Regions from separate parts of the Homo sapiens genome. Here region 2 is linked to region 1. Evidence: promoter capture Hi-C in 16 types of primary human blood cells and fetal thymus (Javierre and others, 2016). All regions are on one chromosome and are shown on one strand. Each heading gives the region's core, a stretch centred on a gene start or on the middle of the fragment in contact. The rest is flanking DNA. Distances are from core to core; before and after follow the strand shown. Region 1 holds the start of SMARCC1 (SWI/SNF related BAF chromatin remodeling complex subunit C1). Region 2 has its middle 32 kb from the start of ELP6.

What was found. The method cuts DNA at HindIII sites, captures the fragments that hold promoters and counts their contacts. A CHiCAGO score of 5 or more calls a contact.
Region 2: a contact is called between a fragment that was not itself captured here and the fragment with the promoter of SMARCC1 in region 1, in 1 of 17 cell types (endothelial precursors). The highest score is 7.4, in endothelial precursors.

What each region holds. Positions count from the first base shown.
Region 1 is chr3:47,778,283-47,784,093 of GRCh38, reverse strand. It overlaps SMARCC1 (SWI/SNF related BAF chromatin remodeling complex subunit C1), which reads left to right and starts at 2,201. Exons shown (of 28, transcript NM_003074.4): 1 at 2,201-2,491. The coding sequence starts at 2,297. RefSeq lists silencers at 1,458-1,517, 1,628-1,677, 2,088-2,307, 2,488-2,727 and an enhancer at 1,961-2,255. The HindIII fragment of the contact is 14,461 bases long and covers 1-4,266 here.
Region 2 is chr3:47,542,605-47,548,438 of GRCh38, reverse strand. No RefSeq gene overlaps it. Among named protein-coding and RNA genes, the nearest start is that of ELP6, 32 kb to the right of the region's middle. RefSeq lists an enhancer at 4,994-5,494. The HindIII fragment of the contact is 3,422 bases long and covers 627-4,048 here.

The DNA.
Region 1 (5,811 bases), core at 952-3,451:
ACTTCGCAGTAGAGAAACCTGGATGATACTCTGTCATCAATGTAACAGGAGAAATGAAATTATGCACCACCTGATAGAATGCAATGCAAAGAACACAAAGATACAAACATCAGACAAACTTAAATTGAGGGTCATTCTACAAAATAAATGCCTTGTAATCTTCATAGGTATCAATGTTGTTAAGGTTTAAGGACTAAGGAACTGTTCCATATTGAAGGAGATGAAACTTTATTAAATGCAAAGTGTGATTTTGAACTGGAAACTTTTGCTATAAAGGACTTCATGGTGCAATAGGAAAAACCTGAATGGGGTCTGGGGATGGCATCAGTGTTAATTTCCTGGTATAAATGATTGTATTGTGATTATGTAAGAGAATATATAGACTATACTTGTCTGTAGAAAATACACATTAAACTTTTTGATAGTGATGGGTATTATGTCAGCAACTTACTCTTAGATGATTCAGGAAAAGTTCTTTGTATTATATTTGCAACTTTTCTGTTAAATCTGAGAAAGTTTCAAATTAAAAACTTTTTTTTTCAGACGAGTTTGGCTCTGTCGCCTAGGCTGGAGTGCAGTGGCGTGATCTCAGCTCACTGCGATCTCCACCTCCTCCTGGGTTCAAGCAATTCTCCTGCCTCAGCCTCCCGAGTAGCTGGGATTACAGGCATGCACCACCACACCTGGCCAATTTTTGTAGTTTTAGTAGAGACGGGGTTTCACCATGTTGGCCAGGGTGGTCTGGAACTCCTGACCTCGTGATCAGTCTGCCTTGGCCTCCCAAAGTGTTGGGATTACAGGCGTGAGCTATCTCGCCTGGCCCTCTTGATCACATTCTATTAACTTTTTTATTTAATATATTTTACTGTCCGTGACACAGCCCTCAGGAGATCCTGAAAACATGTACACACCCTCATTTTTAAAAGATCTCAGAAACTTACCAGCAGTTAGTCACGTTCTCACAAGCAATTAGTTACTTGCTTCTCTGCGATCATATAGCATTATGTTCACAACTCCATTATGGCCAGTCATACTTTTTATGTTTCTGAAACAGGGTTTCGCTCTGTCGCCCAAGCTGAAGTGTAGTGAGTGGCGCGATTATAGCTCACTGCAGCCTCCATCTCCCCAGCTCAAGGGATCCTCCCACCTCAGCCCTCCAAGAGGCTAGGACCACAGGCTTGCAACACAACGCTGGCTGATTTTTGTATTTTTTGTAGAGACGGGGATGGGTGTGGTGGTCTAGAGCTCCTGGGCTCAATTGATCCTCCCGCCTCAGCCTCCCAAAGTGCTCCGCACCCGGCCAATATACCTTGTTAATAATTTAAAAATTTTCGGCTTCTATGTGGGCCATTCATTAACTCATCAAGTATTTACTGTACATCTGTTCCTTGTCTCAGGTGTTCAGGATACACCTGTGAACAAGTTAAGATTAGGTTCTCATGTAATTTATGTGGAAGGTAAATGAGAAACTAGAAACGCCGGGTCGTGGTGAGCGCTATGCAGAAAGTGTATGGGTGTGAACAGTTGTTCAAGATTGTTAAGATCTGACAACTACTTTCTGAAGTCCTTTGAAGCAGTGAATCTGAACGCGTCTCGTAAGTGCAAATCAGAAGGGAAGACCTGCTGAGGTCTCGAAAGAGCCAGTGCAAGGGCCCCTGGGGCAGGAATGAGCCGCTGTGGCTGGACCCCTGAGGGAGTGGAAGGTCTGTGAAGCCGAAAAGCCTAGGCGTGGGAGTCCCAGATGGCTGTTCACAAATGCCGCCGGGCCGCTGGGGGTGGAGGGCCTGAGGGAAAGCGGGGCCCGGCGCAGTCCCAGTCCGGGTGCAGGGCCCTCGGCCAGCACTCGATACCCTAGACAGGCTTTCCCTTGGGCATTTCTCGCACCAGGCCTTTTCCCTCCAGCGGAGGCGGGCTATGACACATAACCCACCTGCGGTTGTTGACCGCATAATGATTCGACGTCGGTAGCGAGGGAAGAGCAAGGCTCAAAAACCGGCGCTCACTAGGGCAGAATGCAGCCTACGGAGGATGGCGGAAGAGGCGGCTGAGGCCGCAGGACGTGCTATTCCAAGGCACGGCCGCACGAGTGCTACGCATGCGCGTGCGCTGGCTCGCGTCAGATACAGTGCCAGTTCCCAGATGGGGCGGGGCCGGGCGTCCGCGCCGGAAGAGGGTTGGCTGGGCGGGGCCGGGAAGCGGCAGTGGCGGCTACGCGCGCGGGGGTGCGCGCGGGAACGACCGGGAAACACCGCGAGGGCCGGGGTGGGCCAGGCTGTGGGGACGACGGGCTGCGACGATGGCCGCAGCGGCGGGCGGCGGCGGGCCGGGGACAGCGGTAGGCGCCACGGGCTCGGGGATTGCGGCGGCAGCCGCAGGCCTAGCTGTTTATCGACGGAAGGATGGGGGCCCGGCCACCAAGTTTTGGGAGAGCCCGGAGACGGTGTCCCAGCTGGATTCGGTGCGGGTCTGGCTGGGCAAGCACTACAAGAAGGTGGGTTCGCGCGCCCGTGGGGGCCGGGAGACCACGCGACCGGGGCCGGAGGCGGCAGCTGGCCTCGCGGGCCTCGGGCCGCCCCTCCCCCCCGCACGCCACGAGGGACAACAAAGGCAGGCGCCGGGCCCGCCACGCCCCCGCCGCCCGCTCTGGGCGCCCGCGATCCCGGGGCCTGACTGGGGTTCGGGGCTCTCTCCTCTGAGCCTACGCACCCATGGTGAAAGCCCCTGCTCAGTCTCGTGTGCCAGAGCAGGTCGAGCTCAGCCACTAAGCGAGTGTGACTCTCTCTCTTTTGTCAGCTGCCTTAGGTGTGTGAACAATGATCCCTAAAGACCGAGCAAGCGTGGTAAAAGCAGCTTCAAGTTTTGTTTAGAGCGTATTCAAAGTCTCGAGGGGGTTTGCTACCTGTTGTTGAATTGCTAAACGACTGGGATGATTGTATTCGTTAATTAATAACAGGCAATATGAATTCTAGGATGGATGAGAACTATTAACGACGGTTCTACCTCATCGTGCTTCTGGTTCTGTGTGGCGTGAGAGTTGATGGTCGCTTGTACGTAAAGTGTTCTAAAGGGAGGCCTTCCCCAAGAACCCAGTTTTTATTAGAGCACTTTTCTTGTGTCACCTTTATTTTCTTCGTAGTGTTTACCACATTTTGAAATTATTCATTTACTGATTTCTCCTACCTTTGGAACGGAAGTTCCGCCGAGTCAGTAGTTTTCAAAGTTTTGACTTAATCCTTTGTTTATAACAAATGTTTTTTTTTTTTCCAACTTCCCTTTTGTGTAAATATTCAGGAGGACTCCCTTAAAGGGTGTAATGAAGCAGGTAGCCGAAAAGGCTCCCCAGCCTCTGAAGTTTTCCTATCACCCTCTTTAGTTCTGTACTTTCTCCTATTGAGAATCATAGCACTGAAGCAAGGGCTTTGTTCACTGCAGTGTATCCGGGAACGTGGCTGATACTTATTGCCTTACCCTTAGTGGCTGCTTAGTAAATATTTGTTGAATGAATGAAAACATAAACTAGTTTAGGAACCTATTTTTTTGGCCTCAGCAGCTCAGTGAAGCCTGTCAGTGTTTGGCAGTTATTAGGCATGGGCAGGGATCTTGGGTTCCTTTGGCATTACACGTGGTACATTCAGAAATGACCATTTCTGGCCGGGCGCGGCTTGGAAGGCCGGGCGGGTGGATCACCTGAGGTCAGGAGTTCGAGACTAGCCTGACCAACATGGTGAAACCCCGTCTTTCCAAAAAATACAAAATTAGTCGGGTGTGGCAGCACATGCCTGTAATCCCAGCTACTCGGGAGGCTGAGGCAGGAGAATCTCTTGAACCCAGGAGGCAGAAGCTGCAGTGAGCCGAGATTGCACCATTGCACTCCAGCCTAGGTAATAAAGTAAGACTGTCTCCAAAAAAAAAAAAAAAAAAAAAACAAAAAAAAACCAAAGACCCAGAAATGATCATTTCTTTCTTTCTTGTTTTTGAAGGTCAGCTAGAAAAATTACATTTCTTATCTGAAGTTTGAGGAAGTGAGAGACAGTAATTATATTTTTAGGTGTCTGGACTTTTCCTCCTCTGAAATTACATTTAGACTGTAGATTTTTAGTAATATTGCCCTTTCTTACACAGTGATAAATTGGTCACTTTTTAAATGTAAGTAATAGAGCTTCCAGAAGTGGCTAATGGAATTGAATATGTTATGAAAATATTGGTTAATTCTTCTTTATTACATTCCTTTTAGCCAATGCTTTGGGTCTTAAATTCAGTGAAGCTTTAACAAAGAAAAATAATCTACAGGCATATTCCTTTGAATAATATCAAGGAAGAGAGTAGAAAAAGGCAAATTTCAGTAATTTCTACCTCTCCGCACTGTTCAGTGTGCATCAGTTTGGGATCAACTACAAGAAGCTTTAGACATGGATAATCCTTCGATATTTGTTTGGGTGGGTAGGGAAGTGGCTACAAAGCAGTTTGAGGAATTGCCCAGCAGTATTGAGACCACTAGGCTAATGTTGATTCACTATCCCTGAGACTTTATAGACAAAGTTACCTTTGACTTCTCAGGACTTTGTAAAGCCAGAGTGTATTTCTAGGGTCTACTGAGATTGAGAAACGTATATACCCTAGGCCTGACAGCCAGAATCTTTTCAGTCTCTGGGTGTTAGCGTTGAAGTGGTGAAAATATTATCACAAAGTTCTTTGCTTCTTTTCTACACAGTGCATTTCTATTTGGTGTACGCATTGGTTTTAACTAACCGTTTCTAGTGCATTTAATACTGCATTTTCAGAGCAGACAACAGTTTCAGTCTCAGTAAACATGATTTTGTTAGTGTCATTTTTTATTTATTTTTATTTTACTTTATTTTTTTGAGACAGGGTCTTTCTGTGTTGCCCAGGCTGGAGTACAGTGGCGTGATCATAGCTCACTGCAACCTCAAACTCTTGCATTCAGCTCATGCATTCAGTGAACAACTGAGCATTTACCATGTGCCGGGTACTTAAAGTATAACTCACTTAAAGTCCTCATAGCAGTCCTAAATGATAGATATTATTTACCTTCTTTTTCAAATGGAAGATACCTGAGACTTCATTTAGGAATTTTCTTTTTTTTTTGAGACAGGGTCTTTCTGTGTTGCCCAGGCTGGAGTGCAGTGGTGAGATCATAGCACACTGCAGCCTCAACCTCCTGGGCTCAGGTGATTCTCCCACCTCAGCCTCCTGAGTACCTGGGACTACAGGCACGAACCACCACACCTGGTTAATTTTTTGTATTATCAGTAGAGGCAGGGTTTTGCAGTGTTGCCCAGGCTGGTCTCGAACTCCTGGGCTCTCTGCCTGCCTCAGCCTCCCAAAGTGCAGGGCTTACAAGTGTGAGCCACCACACTTGGCCCACACTGACTCTTACTTGAAATATTTTGAGACTAATAAATTTTTGTTTTCTTAAATAAAATATAATAGACTTTTTTTGATCAAAAGATTAATTGGGCCAGGTGCAGTGGCTTGCGTCCGTAATCCCAGCACTTGGGAATTCCAGGTGGGAGGTTCATTTGAGCCCAGGATTTGGAGACCAGCTTGGGCAACATGATGAGACCCTGTCTCAAAACAAAACAAAACAAAAAAATACATCAGTTGTGGTGGCATGCACGTGTAGTCCCAGCTACTTGGCTGAGGCAGGGTCCTTGGAGGATCACTTGAGCCTAGGAGGTCGAGGCTGCGGTGAACTGTGTTGGCACCATTGCACTCCAGCCTGGGCAACAGAGCGAGACCTTGTCTCAAAACAAAACGAAACAAAACAAAACAAAAAACAAAAACAAAAAA
Region 2 (5,834 bases), core at 1,088-3,587, 240 kb after region 1:
TAATTCATCCATACATTCTTTTGGATTTTCTTTTCTTCTTCTTTTTTTTTTGAGACAGGGTCTTGCTCTTTTGCTCAGGCTGGAGTGCAGTGGTGCAATCACAGCTCACTGCAGCCTTGATCTCCTGGGCTCAAGCGATTCTCTCACCCTAGCCTCCTGAGTAGGTGGAACTACAGATGCCCACCACCATGCCCAGCTACATTTTTTGGTTTTTAGTAGAGACAAGGTCTTGCTATGTTATCAGGCTGATCTCGAACTGCTGAGTTCAAGCAATCCTCCCTCCTCTGCTTCCCACAGTGCACTGGGATTTTCTATGTATAAAATCATGTAATCTCCATATAATAATAGCTTTGTTTCTTCCTTTACAATCCTTACACGTTTTAATTCTCTTTCTTGGATATCACACTAGCCAGGACCTTTCAGTACCTTAAGAATACATAATGGTGAGAGCAGACATCCTCATATCATTGCCAATCTCAAAGAGAAAAAATGCCTTCAACATTTCATCATTAAGACTGCCTGCTGTAAGCTTTTTTTGCAGCTACCCTTTATCACATTAAAGTTCTCTTCTATTCATAGTTTTGAAGAGTTTTAATTTTAATGGATGTTAAATTATATCAAAAGCTTTTCCACATCTATTAGGCTAATCATGTAATTTTCCTAACTTATTTGCTTAATACAGAAAATTACATTGATTTTTCAAATGTTAAACCAATCTTGTAATTTTGGAATAAACCTAACTTGGTCAGATGCATTAACCTTTCAAATTATTATTAGATCAAATTTGCCAAAGTGTATTTTTAGTCTTTGCATATATGTTAATGAGTTAGATTGGCCTATAACCTGCCTATCTTTGTTGGGTGTTTGGTATCAAGGTTATGTCAGCCTTCTAAAATATATTGAGTAGCTGGATGTGGAGGCGGAGGCAGGCAGATCACCTGAGGTCAGGAGTTCGAAGCCAGCCTAGCCAACATGGCAAAACCCAGTCTCTACTAAAAATACAAAAATTAGCTGGGCATGGTGGGGGGTATCTGTAATCCCAGGTAGTCGGGAGGGTGAGGCACGAGAATTGCTTGAACCCAGGAGGCAGAGGTTGCAGTGAGCCAAGATCACGCCACTGCACTCCAGCCTGGGTGACAGAGCAAGACTCCATCTCAAAAAAAAGATGTGTTGGGTAATGTACTTCTTTTTTTTTTTTTTTTTTTTTTTTTGAGACAGAGTCTCACTCTGTCGCCCAGGCTGGAGTGCAGTGGCGCGATCTCGGCTCACTGCAAGCTCCGCCTCCCAGGTTCACGCCATTCTCCTGCCTCAGCCTCCCGAGTAGCTGGGACCACAGGCGCCTGACACCACGCCTGGCTAATTTTTTTGTATTTTTAGTAGAGACGGGGTTTCACCATGTTAGCCAGGACGGAATCGATCTCCTGACCTCGTGATCCGCCCACCTCGGCCTCCCAAAGTGCTGGGATTACAGGTGTGAGTCACCGCGCCCGGCCAATGTACCTCTTTTTATATTTTCCTGAGGGGTTTGTGTATATTGGCACCATATCTTCCTTTAATGTTTAGTAGAACATTGTGGAATTTTTTTTCTATTTTTCTTTCTTTTTTTTAGACAAGGTCTTGCTCTGCCTCCTGGGCTGGAGTGCAGTGGCACGATCTTGGCTCACTGGAGCCTTGACCTCCCAGGCTCAAGCGATCCTCCCGCCTCAGCCTCCTGCAAAGCCAGGACCACAGATGCGTGCCACCATGCCCAGCTAGTTTTTGTAGTTTTTTTTTGTAGAGACAGGGTTTCGCCATGTTGCTCAGGCTGGTCTCCAACTCCTGACCTCAAACGATCTGCCCGCCTCGCCCTCCCACAGTGCTGGTTTTACAGGTGTGAGCCACCATGCCTGACCTGCACTACTATCTAATACCTAATAAAATATTTTTTAAAAAATATCTCGGCTGGGCGCAGTGGCTCACGCCTGTAATCCCAACACTTTGGGAGGCTGAGGTAGGCGGATCACCTGAGATCAGGAGTTCGAGGTCAGCCTGGCCAACATGGCGAAAGCCTGTCTCTGCTAAAAATACAAATACAAAAATTAGCAGGGCGTGGGGCGGGCACCTGTGGTCTCAACTACTCGGGACGCTGAGGTGGGAGGATCACTTGAGATCAGGAGGCGGAGGCTGCAGTGAGCCGAAATCACACCACTGCACTCCAGCCTGGGCAACAGAGCAAGACTCAGTCTCAAAAAAAAAAATCTCATTTGAAAATCCATGAGTAAAATTAAAATTTCAAATTTTATTCATTACCATTGCCCAGTTTGCAAAATAAGAAATGATTATTTTTATCATTTTATGCTTTGCCACTATCAGTTTGAAAGTTATTAGCTTTTTTCAAGGCTGGTAGCGGTGGCTCATGCCTGTAGTCCTGGCACTTTGGGAGGCGGAGGCAGGCAGATCACTTGAGGCCAAGAATTTGAGACCAGCCTACCAACATGGCGAAACTCTGTCTCTACTAAAAACACAAAAATTTTCCAGGCGTGGTGGTGCACACCTGTAATCCCAGCTACTCGAGAGACTGAGGCAGGAGAATCACTTGAACCTGGGAGGTGGCAGTTGCAGTGAGCTGAGATCATGCCACTGCCCTCCAGCCTGGGTGATAGAGCAGAACTCTGTCTCAAAAAAAGAAAAAAAAAAAAGAAATGAAAGTTACTCGCTTTTTCTATATTCATTTAGTAATTTCTCTAGAAGAGTTTTGACCCATTTTTCATTCTGTACTGAATGAAAATATTCGGTGTTGCTGCTGTTCAGTGTGGTAACCACATGTGCTATTGAGCATTTGAAGTGTGGCTAATACAACTAAGAAACTGAATTTTTAATTTTGTTTAATTTTACTTAATTTAAATGTAAATTGACCGTCATGCGACAGCTCTCCTGGCCCCTCAATGTCACGTGGCTGGCGGCTACTATATTAGATAGCATGGTTGTAGAAATTATAACTTGCATCCCTTTCTTGTCAATATATGGTTTTCACATTATTGTTATCTTCTTCCCAGGCAATTAAAGAACCTTAGAGCACTAACTCATTTGTTTCTCTCCTCATATATATGCTACAGTTAATATTTTTAAATTCTCACTATATATTTAAAATTCCAAAAGCTATTATCGTCTTGTTTCCCTTTTGTTCAATCCATCCTATGGCCACTGTGGTCTTCCTTATGTTCCTTGAATAACAAGACTCACTTCAGAGTCTTTGCACGTGCTGCTCCCTCTGCTGAGAATGTCTTTCCCTCACATCGCTGTACGGATGGCTCCTTCCCATCATTCAGATCCCTGCTCAGAGCAACGTCCTCAACGAGGCCTCCCCTGACCCTTTGTTGCAGAATTTGGTGGTTGCCTACCCAACAACAATATGGTGATCCTTCCTGAGGACCTCGTCTTTGTTTCGTTACCATGCCTCCCCTGAGAGCCCCTGTGTTTAGGAGCGAGTCCTAATTGGTAACCCAATCCAGGTGATTTCTGTCACCTTGCCAGTGATTGGTTTTATTTTTACATTTTTATTTATTTATTTATTTATTTTGAGACGGAGTTTTGCTCTTGTTCCCCAGGCTGGAGTGCAATGGCACTATCTCGACTCACCGCAACCTCCACCTCCAGAGTTCCTGCGGTTCTCCTGCCTCAGCCTCCGGAGTAGGTGGGATTACAGGTGCCCACCGCCACAGTAATTTTTTGGATTTTTAGTAGAGACAGGGTTTCACCATGTTGGCCAGGGTGGTCTCGAACTCCTGACCTCAGGTGATCCACCAACCTCGGCCTCCCAAAGTGCTGGGATTACAGGTGTGAGCCACCGTGCCCAGCCCTTAATTTTTAATTTTTTAAAATTTTGTAGACACAGGGTCTTGCCATGGTGCCCAGGCTGGTCTCAAACCCCTGGGCTCGAGTGATTCGCCCGCCTCAGCCTCCCAAAGTGCTGGGACTACAGGTGTGAGCCACTGCGTCCAGCCTTGGTGATCAGCTTTAAGCGTGAACACGTGACGCTGCTCTGGTAAATGAGTTGTGAAGTGAAGCTTACTGGGGTGAATTCCAGGAAAGTTTTTCTATCACCAGGAATAGACGATCTCTTCTCCAGTGACCTCTGACATGCATTACATCCTTAGATATAATCCTTGGCACAGTGGCAGCCATCTTGTGGCTACGAGGGGCACCAGCCTGAGGCCAAGGCTGAAGGTAACAGAACAGAGAGCAGCAAAGTGCCTGGTTCTTCACAGATGTCCGTGAGTCCCTGAAATGGTCAGTTCTGGAGCTGCCCAGTTTCCAGGTTTCTTATTACTTGAAGCCAAAAGCAGTCTAATTTTTACCTTCCCTGATGTGGCTCTCCTCACCCCACACCTCCCCCGACACTCCCTCCCACTCAGGTTCTTCAGAGTATATGTCTCTACTGGAAACTACTTTATTTTTCATTTAACAAACACTTGGCCAGGCGTGGTGGCTCACGCCTGTAATCCTAGCACTTTGGGAGGCCAAGGCTGGCAGATCACCTGAGGTCAGGAGTTCGAGACCAGCCTGGCCAACATGATGAAACCCTGTCTCTACTGAAAATATGAAAAATTAGCTGGGTGTGATGGTAGGCACCTGTAATCCCAGCTACTCGGGAGGCTGAGGCAGGAGAATCACTTGAACCTGGGAGGTGGAGGTTGCAGTGAGCTGAGATCGTGCCACTGCACTCCAGCCTGGGTTACAGAGCGAGACTCCGTCTCAAAACAAACAAACAAACAAATGAAAAACAATATTTCTGTGATGTTTACTATATGCCAGGTAGTGTTTGAAGTGCTTTACATATATTAACTCCTTTAATTCTTAGAGCTATCCTGTGTGATAGATACTTTTATTATCCCACCTTACAGAGGAGGAGGCCCAGGCACAGAGGTTAAATAGCTTTCCGGTGGTCAGATGGTGGAGCCAGGGCTGGGCTTTGAACCCAGAGCCTTCAGCCTGTGGAGTCAGTGCCCATAACCATTCTTTGCCTCTGTGTAGTTTTTCCGCATTGGTTTACTTGCTTTCTGCCTGAGGAGTCAGAATAGAGATTTCTGAGAGCAGGGATCCTGATTGTCTTGTTCACTACCTGGTCTCAGGGCACTCAGTAGGTGGTAGTCTTTGTTGAGTGAATGGATGGATGGATGAATGAATGCATGGTAGACTCTGTTTCCTTGAGGATGGAGCAGTTTCTTGTTTGCATCGTGGCCCTGGGCTTGGAAGAGGGCTGAGCCTTCTTGGGATGTATTGATGGGGCCTGTGGAGTGAGCTGAACTCTGGATCCCTGATGCCACCCCTCTCTGAGGCCCCCGGGGAGGCCTGTGCCGAGGTCTCAGGAGCCCTCAAAAGCGTGGCCCTTTGTTTGGGTTTGCCCTCTGGTTGCCGGGTGCTCCCTCGGCCGGCTCCCTCCTCCCTTCGCTGCAGAAGAAAGGGAGCTGGCCCTCTTTCCCCTTGGCACTATGTGTGCTCATTGGAAGTTCCTGAGGCCAGGCCCAGTGGGCGGCCCGAGCTGCCATCGTTAATCACACAGCCTGCTGCTGCCTGCCCACGCGGCTAGCTTTGAGGGCCGGCCAGAGCCTCTGGTGGGAACCACTCGCTGCTCTAATTGGGCCTCTCCTGGGAGGCGGCAGGCCCTGATTCTCACTTGTCTTTACTCTGGTGACTGCTTGGCCCTCTCAAGGAGGACAGCACGCTTCCTGGTCCGGCCGGCTCTATGGCCAGCCAGGGCAGAAGTTCACCCTTGTTCTACAGATGGAGAAACAGAAACCCTGGGGCAGACCGGGTCCATGTCCAAGGCCACGACAAGGTTGCCAGGAGTAACC